Linked DNA regions of Homo sapiens: region 2 is linked to region 1. Evidence: promoter capture Hi-C in human tissues and cell types (Jung and others, 2019). All regions are on one chromosome and are shown on one strand. The core of a region is centred on a gene start or on the middle of the fragment in contact, and the rest is flanking DNA. Distances in the headings are between cores, read along the strand shown. Region 1 holds the start of DNAJC15 (DnaJ heat shock protein family (Hsp40) member C15). Region 2 overlaps LOC124903166 (a long non-coding RNA gene).

The links. Contacts are between HindIII fragments. The study calls those that stand out against the background at their distance.
Region 2: a fragment that was not itself captured here is called in contact with the fragment with the promoter of DNAJC15 in region 1 in 1 of the 25 tissues and cell types used here (hippocampus).

The regions. Positions count from the first base shown.
Region 1 is chr13:43,021,396-43,025,128 of GRCh38, reverse strand. DNAJC15 (DnaJ heat shock protein family (Hsp40) member C15) reads right to left here and starts at 1,543. Exons shown (of 6, transcript NM_013238.3): 1 at 1,395-1,543. The coding sequence starts at 1,502. RefSeq lists enhancers at 1,045-1,094, 1,605-1,654, 1,665-1,724. The HindIII fragment of the contact is 4,695 bases long and covers 1-2,548 here.
Region 2 is chr13:43,813,685-43,817,178 of GRCh38, reverse strand. LOC124903166 (a long non-coding RNA gene) reads right to left here. Exons shown (of 3, transcript XR_007063773.1): 3 at 2,363-2,914. Among named protein-coding and RNA genes, the nearest start is that of ENOX1, 28 kb to the right of the region's middle. The HindIII fragment of the contact is 3,357 bases long and covers 202-3,494 here.

The DNA.
Region 1 (3,733 bases), core at 294-2,793:
AGGGATGATCCTGGACCAGTTACTTAAAACTTTCTAAATCTCTACTGCCTCATTTTTTTTTCTTTGTTGGAGACAGGGTCTAGCTCTGTCTCTCAGGCTGGAGTGCAGTGGCGAAATCATAGCTCACTATAACCTCAACTCCTGGGCTCAAGTGATTCTCCCGACCCAGCCTCCCAAGCAGCTAGGACTACAGGCTCACACCACCACACCCAGCTAATTTTTTTTTTTTTTTTTTAGCAGAGATGGGGTCTCCTGTGTTGCCCAGGCTGTCCTCCAAACTCATGGCCTCAAGTGATCCTCCTGCCTGGGCTTCCTAAAGCGCTGGGATTACAAGCCTAAACCACCACTTGGGCAATATTTCATATTGAATGTTGAAAATTACCATGCAACTGTGCATATATCAGGTTAAAGAAAATACATGGTTAAAATCAAACCCACCTGTTTCTCTTCAGTTGTTTAATATGGCTACAAAAAACTTAAAAATATGCCGGACGCGGTGGCTCACGCCTGTAATCCCAGCACTTTGGGAGGCCGAGGCGGGCGGATCACGAGGTAAGCAGATCGAGACCATCCTGGCTAACACGGTGAAACCCCCGTCTCTACTAAAAATACAAAAAATTAGCCGGGAGTGGTGGCAGGCGCCTGTAGTCCCAGCTACTTGGGAGGCTGAGGCAGGAGAATGGCCTGAAACCGGGAGGCGGAGCTTGCAGTGAGCCGAGATCGCGCCACTGCACTCCAGCCTGGGCGACAGAGCGAGACTCCGTCTCAAAAAAAAAAAAAAAAAAAAAAAACGTAAAAATACGTATGTGGCTCACAATATGCTTCTGTTGGACAGTTTTCTGTTAGACCCTTCCTTTTTCCAGCTCTACAGTTCATCCTGAATACACCACTTGGAGTTTCCAACTGGGCCCTGTTTCTGTGCCGGAGACTTTGGAGACAGTAGTCCTGGTACCCGAAACACTTTTTCCCCTTCTCCTTGCTGAATGGACTGTTTTTATTCATTCAGATCTTAATTTTTAACTACAGCTTTCTCCAAGAAGCGTCCCTGATCCCACCACGTCCCCTGCAAGACGTTTTTAGGGCCTCCTATGAGATAGGAAAATCCACATACAGCACTTATTTTACTGTATTTGCAATTGCCTGTTTTCTGGTTTGTGTCCCAGACAAGACTGGAAGCTCCTTGAGGAGACAGATCCTCAGAACTGCTCCGTCTTCCACGCCCAGGCGTCAAAGCCCAGCACAAAGCGGTCTCTCCACTGAACAAGTGAGCGCTAGGGCACAGACCGTGAGCGAATGCGGGGGAGTACAAAGGTTCAAGGGTGAGGCGGTAGAGGGGGCTGAAGCAGAAACTACAAGGGAGCCAGAGAGGGGTGGGGGCCGCTGGCAGGACTCACCAGTCTCTGCTGGTCGACGTCGGCGTCTGGCCGTTTGGCCGAGGGCTGCAAGTACTCAGCGTAGCGCAAACTCTCGCCAACTGGAGCGATGACACCACGGGCAGCCATGGCAAGGCGGCCCGGAGACTCAAGGCGCCGCGGCAGTGACTACGAGGCGGCCGTAGGGACAAACTAGTTAGCGCGGTTTCTTCTCGCAGATCCAGTGGACTCTGCGCTCGTTGTGCTATTAAAGGCGAGGTTCCCGGAAGATACCCTTCTCACCCGAGCTGGGTAACGTGTCCCGTGCAAGCACGGGGTCACACTCCGAAAGGAGCCAAGGGCACTGGGACGTTCTTGAATCACACTCACAGGCGCAAAGCCAACGCGGACCCTCAGGGAGCTTTATATACTTGGGCCTGGTCCCTCCCCAGGCCGCCGTAAGGGACTGGGCTTAAGCCCTGCGAACTGATGTTGGTCGAATCAGATGACTGCCCAGTAAGCTCGGAGTCTAGCTGTAGTGCCTGAGGGTGGGCTTGCCTGAGCTTTCCTGACCCCCTTCCGGGCAGCCTTTCTTCCCACTCTCAACTTCTGTTCGCACTTCTGTTTAATGCCACAGTTCTACCACCCCGGGAGAGAAATTAAAGAGGCAATTTGCTTACTCCACCCCCAAGTAAATGGCTGTATTTAAGGTGAAATTACACAGAAGAAAGTTGTGGCCGGGTGCGGTGGCTCACGCTGTAATCCCAGCACTTTGGGAGACCGAGGCGGGTGGATCACACCAGCTTGGCCGACATGGTGAAACCTCGTCTCTACTAAAAATACAAAGATTAGCTGGGTGTGGTGGTGCGTCCCTGTAATCCCAGCTACTCAGGAGCCTGAGGCAGGGGAAAAAAAGTTGTGAGCAAGTAGGTAAATCTTACTCTCCCTCAAATGAGTTTGTGCTGATTTGTATATATAAAAGCCCATTTTATTATTAAGCTTTTTTTTTTTTTTGAGATGGAGTCTCGCTCTGTTGCCCAGGCTGAGTGCAGTGGCGCAATCTCTGGCTCACTGCACCCTCTGCCTCCCGAGTACCTGGGATTAAAGGCACGTGCCACCACACCTGGCTAATTTGTGTATTTTTAGTAGAGACGAGGTTTCACCATGTTGGCCAGGCTGGTCTCAAACTCCTGACCTCAGGTGATCCGCCCGCTTCAGCCTCCCAAAGTGCTGAGATTACAGGCGTGAGTCACCGCGCCTGGCCTCCATCAAGTTTTTAGAGCAAAAATTAACCAGCAGTTGAAGCGTATGGTGTTTTCCAACTTCTGTACCAACGTGGCAGCTCTTTGGCTCCTTATACCCTTTGCAAAATCAGCTGACAGGAAGAAAAAGCTTTATTTTTTTTCTATTCCTGAATTTAAAGTTTTGAGGGTCTATTAATTTGTTCACTTAGTTAATATTATTAGCATGTCTAAGAAGTTAGGTCCTAGAAATTTACAATCTTGTAGGGAAGATAACACTGACACAGAATAATAGTACATACCAGAACATGAGCACATGCATTGCATAGCAGTATAAAGAGAACTGGACTGGGAATTAAACCGCCATTGCAAAATTACAACTGAGAAAGAGATCTGACCTAATCAACACCATCTTGCTTCTAACCTCCAAGCTGTCTTGTACATTCCTGGCCGTAGGCCAAACTAACTTTGGGAGGAATGTAATTCATAGTTTATAGTTTGAAACAAAGATGATAAAAGCCCTTTCCCAAAACAAACCTCCTTCTTGCCTGGGGACTAGACTGCCTTTGTAGGACTAACAAATTAGCCACAAGATCAGAAATTATGACTTAGGAGTCATGCAGCTGGAGGCTACAAGATTCTGACCCTCCCCAAATTGCTGCTGGAGCTAACATCACTATTGTAAAAACTACCACCAGTGCTTGAGATATTTTGCAGACCCCGCACTTGATGAATCAGCTGGCATCACCCAGATCGATAAACTGGCTCATCTGATCTCGTGGCCCCCACCCAGGAACTGATAACGCAAGACAACTTGGACTCCCTGTGATTTCATCTTTGACCTGACCAATCAGCACTCCCAGCTCACTGGCTTCCCCCTACTCACCGAGTTGTCCTTAAAAATTCTGATCCCCAGCTGGGCGCGGTGGCTCATGCCTGTAATCCCAGCACTTTGGGAGGCCGAAGGTGGGTGCATCATGAGGTCAAGAGAGTGAGACCATCCTGGCCAACATGGTGAAATCCCATCTCTACTAAAAATACAAAAATTAGCTGGGCGTGGTGGGTGCCTGTAGTCCCAGCTACTCGGGAGGCTGAGGCAGGAGAATCGCTTGAACCTGGGAGGCAGAGGTTGCAGTGAGC
Region 2 (3,494 bases), core at 631-3,130, 790 kb before region 1:
ATCTATGTGAGAGCTTGTTTCTTGGCATTCTATTCTATCCTGTAGGTCAATGTGGCTGTCTTCATGCCAGAATAATCTTTCGTTTGTGACAGAAGTAGCAATTATTTTCCCCAGCTTGTCATTTGTCTTTTTACTTTTTTATATTACTTTTGCCATGCAAAAGTTGTTTTATTTTTATGTAGTTGAACTGATCAATTGTTTTACTGTTTTTGTATTTTGTGTCATAGTTAGGAAAGTTTTTCTCATACTCAGCTTATTAAGAAATATGTCAATGTTTCCTTCTAGTACATGAATAACACCATGTCAATTTATCTAATAATTGTTATCTTCAATTCTACTACAAAGTGTCCATATAAAAAGAGAAATTGACTCCTTTTAGTGAATCCATAATAAGAAACCAAATTGAAAAACACTGCAAAAAGACTGATGGCCAAGCTCGAACGTAATGTTTTGTTTATAATAATGATGGCAGTGATGATAATGACAGCTATTGTCTGGTGACTTCATAATCAGCACAAGGCACTGTAGGAGATCTTTGCATATACTAAGTACAGAAAAAGAAAAGCACAGCTTTTAAGAGCTTTAACTTCGGATTTACATAAACTTGAGTTCAAATATGTGTTTTATTAGATTTTATTCCAAACTCTCTCACTTACTGGTTGTGTGACTTTGGGCGAGTTTCTTTTGTTCATTAAATCTCATTTTAAAAATCTGTAAAATGGAAATAATAATAGGATTACTTCATGGAGTTGTAAGATTAAATAAGATAATGCATATAAAGCCCTCAGTGATTAGCATTATGTATTTAATACACATTAGCCACTGTTAATCACCAGTTTAGAAATGAAATTACTAAAGTGATGAGAAATTAAATAAAGTCATTTAATTAGTAAGTGTCAGAACTGGAATTCAAACCCAAGCTTTAATCTGTTTTCACTCCAAAGTTCTTACCCCTCTTCTACATCAGTAGAAAGTATTTTTTATATGAATACTGATTTTTAGAAAAGCCTTAGAATAGAGCATACTGGAATGTTAAGGAAACAGCTTTTTTTAAAAAAAAAAATTAGAAACAATGGCTTTATTTATTTATTTATTTATTTAATTTTTCTGAGACAGAGTCTTGCTCTCTCACCCAGGCTGGAGTGCAGTGGCGCAGTCTTGGCTCACTGCAACCTCCTCCTGCTGGGTTCAAGCAATTCTCCTTCCTTAGACTCCTCAGTAGCTGGGATTACCGGCATGTGCCACCACACCCAGTTAATTTTTGTATTTTTAGTAGAGAGGGGGTTTCACCATGTTTGTCAGGCTGATCTCGAACTCCTGACCTCAGGCAATCCGCCTGCCTCGGCCTTCCAAAGTGCTGGGATTACAGGTGTGAGCCACCACGCCTGGCCAGAAACAATGGTATTTACAAAAGAAACTTAGTGTACAAAAACATAGTGCATTACCCCATGATCATTGCCTCTTTGTCCACAATCAAATGGGATGTATTCAAAATTTTTGAGCTGAGAAGTTAGAGAAGAAAAGGACTGAGAACGTGTGGCTAGATTGGGTAATTAAAATCCTATGGCTGATTGTTAAAGCAGAAACCACAGTATGTGTGGTTAAGGAGCAAGTGTATACCAGCAGCATCGGGGCTGGTGGAGGCTGGATCAGGCTAGCCAAGATTAGACAAGCTTTCTGGGGGCCGAACAGGAACCAGGAGAAGCCCTAGAAGGGAGAGAGAGGACTGATAGCAGGGAGCATTTATTCCTCATGACTCATGTTTCCATTAAGGGAAGAAAATGTCAAATCTACTCCCCAGGAATGGAAAATTATGAGAGGAATGCTTTCAGCTTATCTCTGATTTTCCTCTTTTCCTAGTAGATGACTGATTTATCTTTTGCAAAGTTGGAAGAACACTTAACCCCTGACTCTCCATAAGCCAGCCTGCAAACCAAGTGCAGAGAGAGTGCATTCTGGGCTGCTGTTGTAGGAGAAAATTCAACTCAGCAAGGCTTTTGACCAAACATCTAAAGACATGTTCCCCAGTTGGCTTTATCAATAATGAAGTTAACATTTTGAGGTTGATTCTTCCAAACATGAGAGGGGGAGAAAGTAGTGTGCAAGGGGTCAACAGGCAGAAGCTGAAGCAGGTGAATATCCAGGTGGCATCAGTATGCTTAAGTAACAGTAATGCAGGCAGAATCCCATCCCAAGGTGAAGCATTTCCACAGACACTCTAAACTGTGAATCTAACTGCACTAGTTGCTTTCTTGTGACTAGATTTAGCCTAGAACCTAAGTGCAAGCTCACCCCCTTACAGGTGGAATTTGAGGCCTTAGGTGTGAGAAATAGAAGGATAATATGCCTCAAACCAAAAGAGTAGAAAAAGGGAAATTACATGTTTATTGCACTTTTGAGAAATGAGATAGTAAATGAAAGGCTAGAAATACAATAATTTAAGAGGGGGATTTTCTAGAGCTTGGGCAATAGGACTGTTGCAGAGCTCATGAAAAGGGTGACACTGAAGATGCAAGAAAATAGAAGGTAATTCATGCAGTAGTCCTGGAAAGCCAGGAGGGGACAGGATCCATACAGAGAGGAAGGCATAGCCTTGGGAAGAAAGAGCATTCCTGAGACAGGATGAGAAAAATAAGAGAACGATCAAAGGCAAAAGAAAATTTTAAAGTGAGGAGGAAGGAAATCAAAGGAGCTCTTGTTTAGATAGAGGGTGAGGATAACAGCTAAGGGTAAAAGCACAGAGCTAGTGCAATTGAGAATGAAATGATGTGAACAGACATAAAGCTACTGGGAAAAAAGGGATTGACATTAATGATCTAAGTAATGCAGATCAGAGTAAATCCATGGTGAGCCCACTGAGCTCAGCTTTGCCATGGTTGTCCAGCAATGTTCTGTTGTCCAGGATTAGGAGGCACTGCAAAAGAATGGTTGGCAATTGAATTAATACATTCAATATGTCAAATGCATTTTAATTTTTCTTTTTTTCTTCTTTCCTCCCTCCCTCTCTCCTTCCCTCCCTCATGCTTTCCTTCCTTTCTTCCTTTATTTGATTTTACTTGTAACTGACTTGAAACTCAAACTTTTCTTTTTTAATGAGTTTGGATTTTTACCACAGGGTCATCATGTTAAACAGTTATTCTCTCAATATGGTAGTAGAGTTGTAAACATAGAAGTTATAAAAGGTAACATACCTGGGAAGTAGCTTGCTTACTTTGTTGGCTTATTTTAAAACCAAATTCAACATCTCAGGTTACAAGTGCAGTATTAATATTTATTGAACACCTAAGAAGTGCTAGACATTTTCTAGGGCACCATACAAACATGTAACTTGATTTAAGAAAGTATTCCAATTGGTATGATTCTGGACCATTTATTCAACAAGTGTACATCTACTAAGGGAATCTCTGCAACATAATGTGCAAGGCATGGTCCTCTCCTTCCTGCCACTAATACCTGAAGCAGATGAAACAGTTCAGCAGCACTGAAAGAGTTAA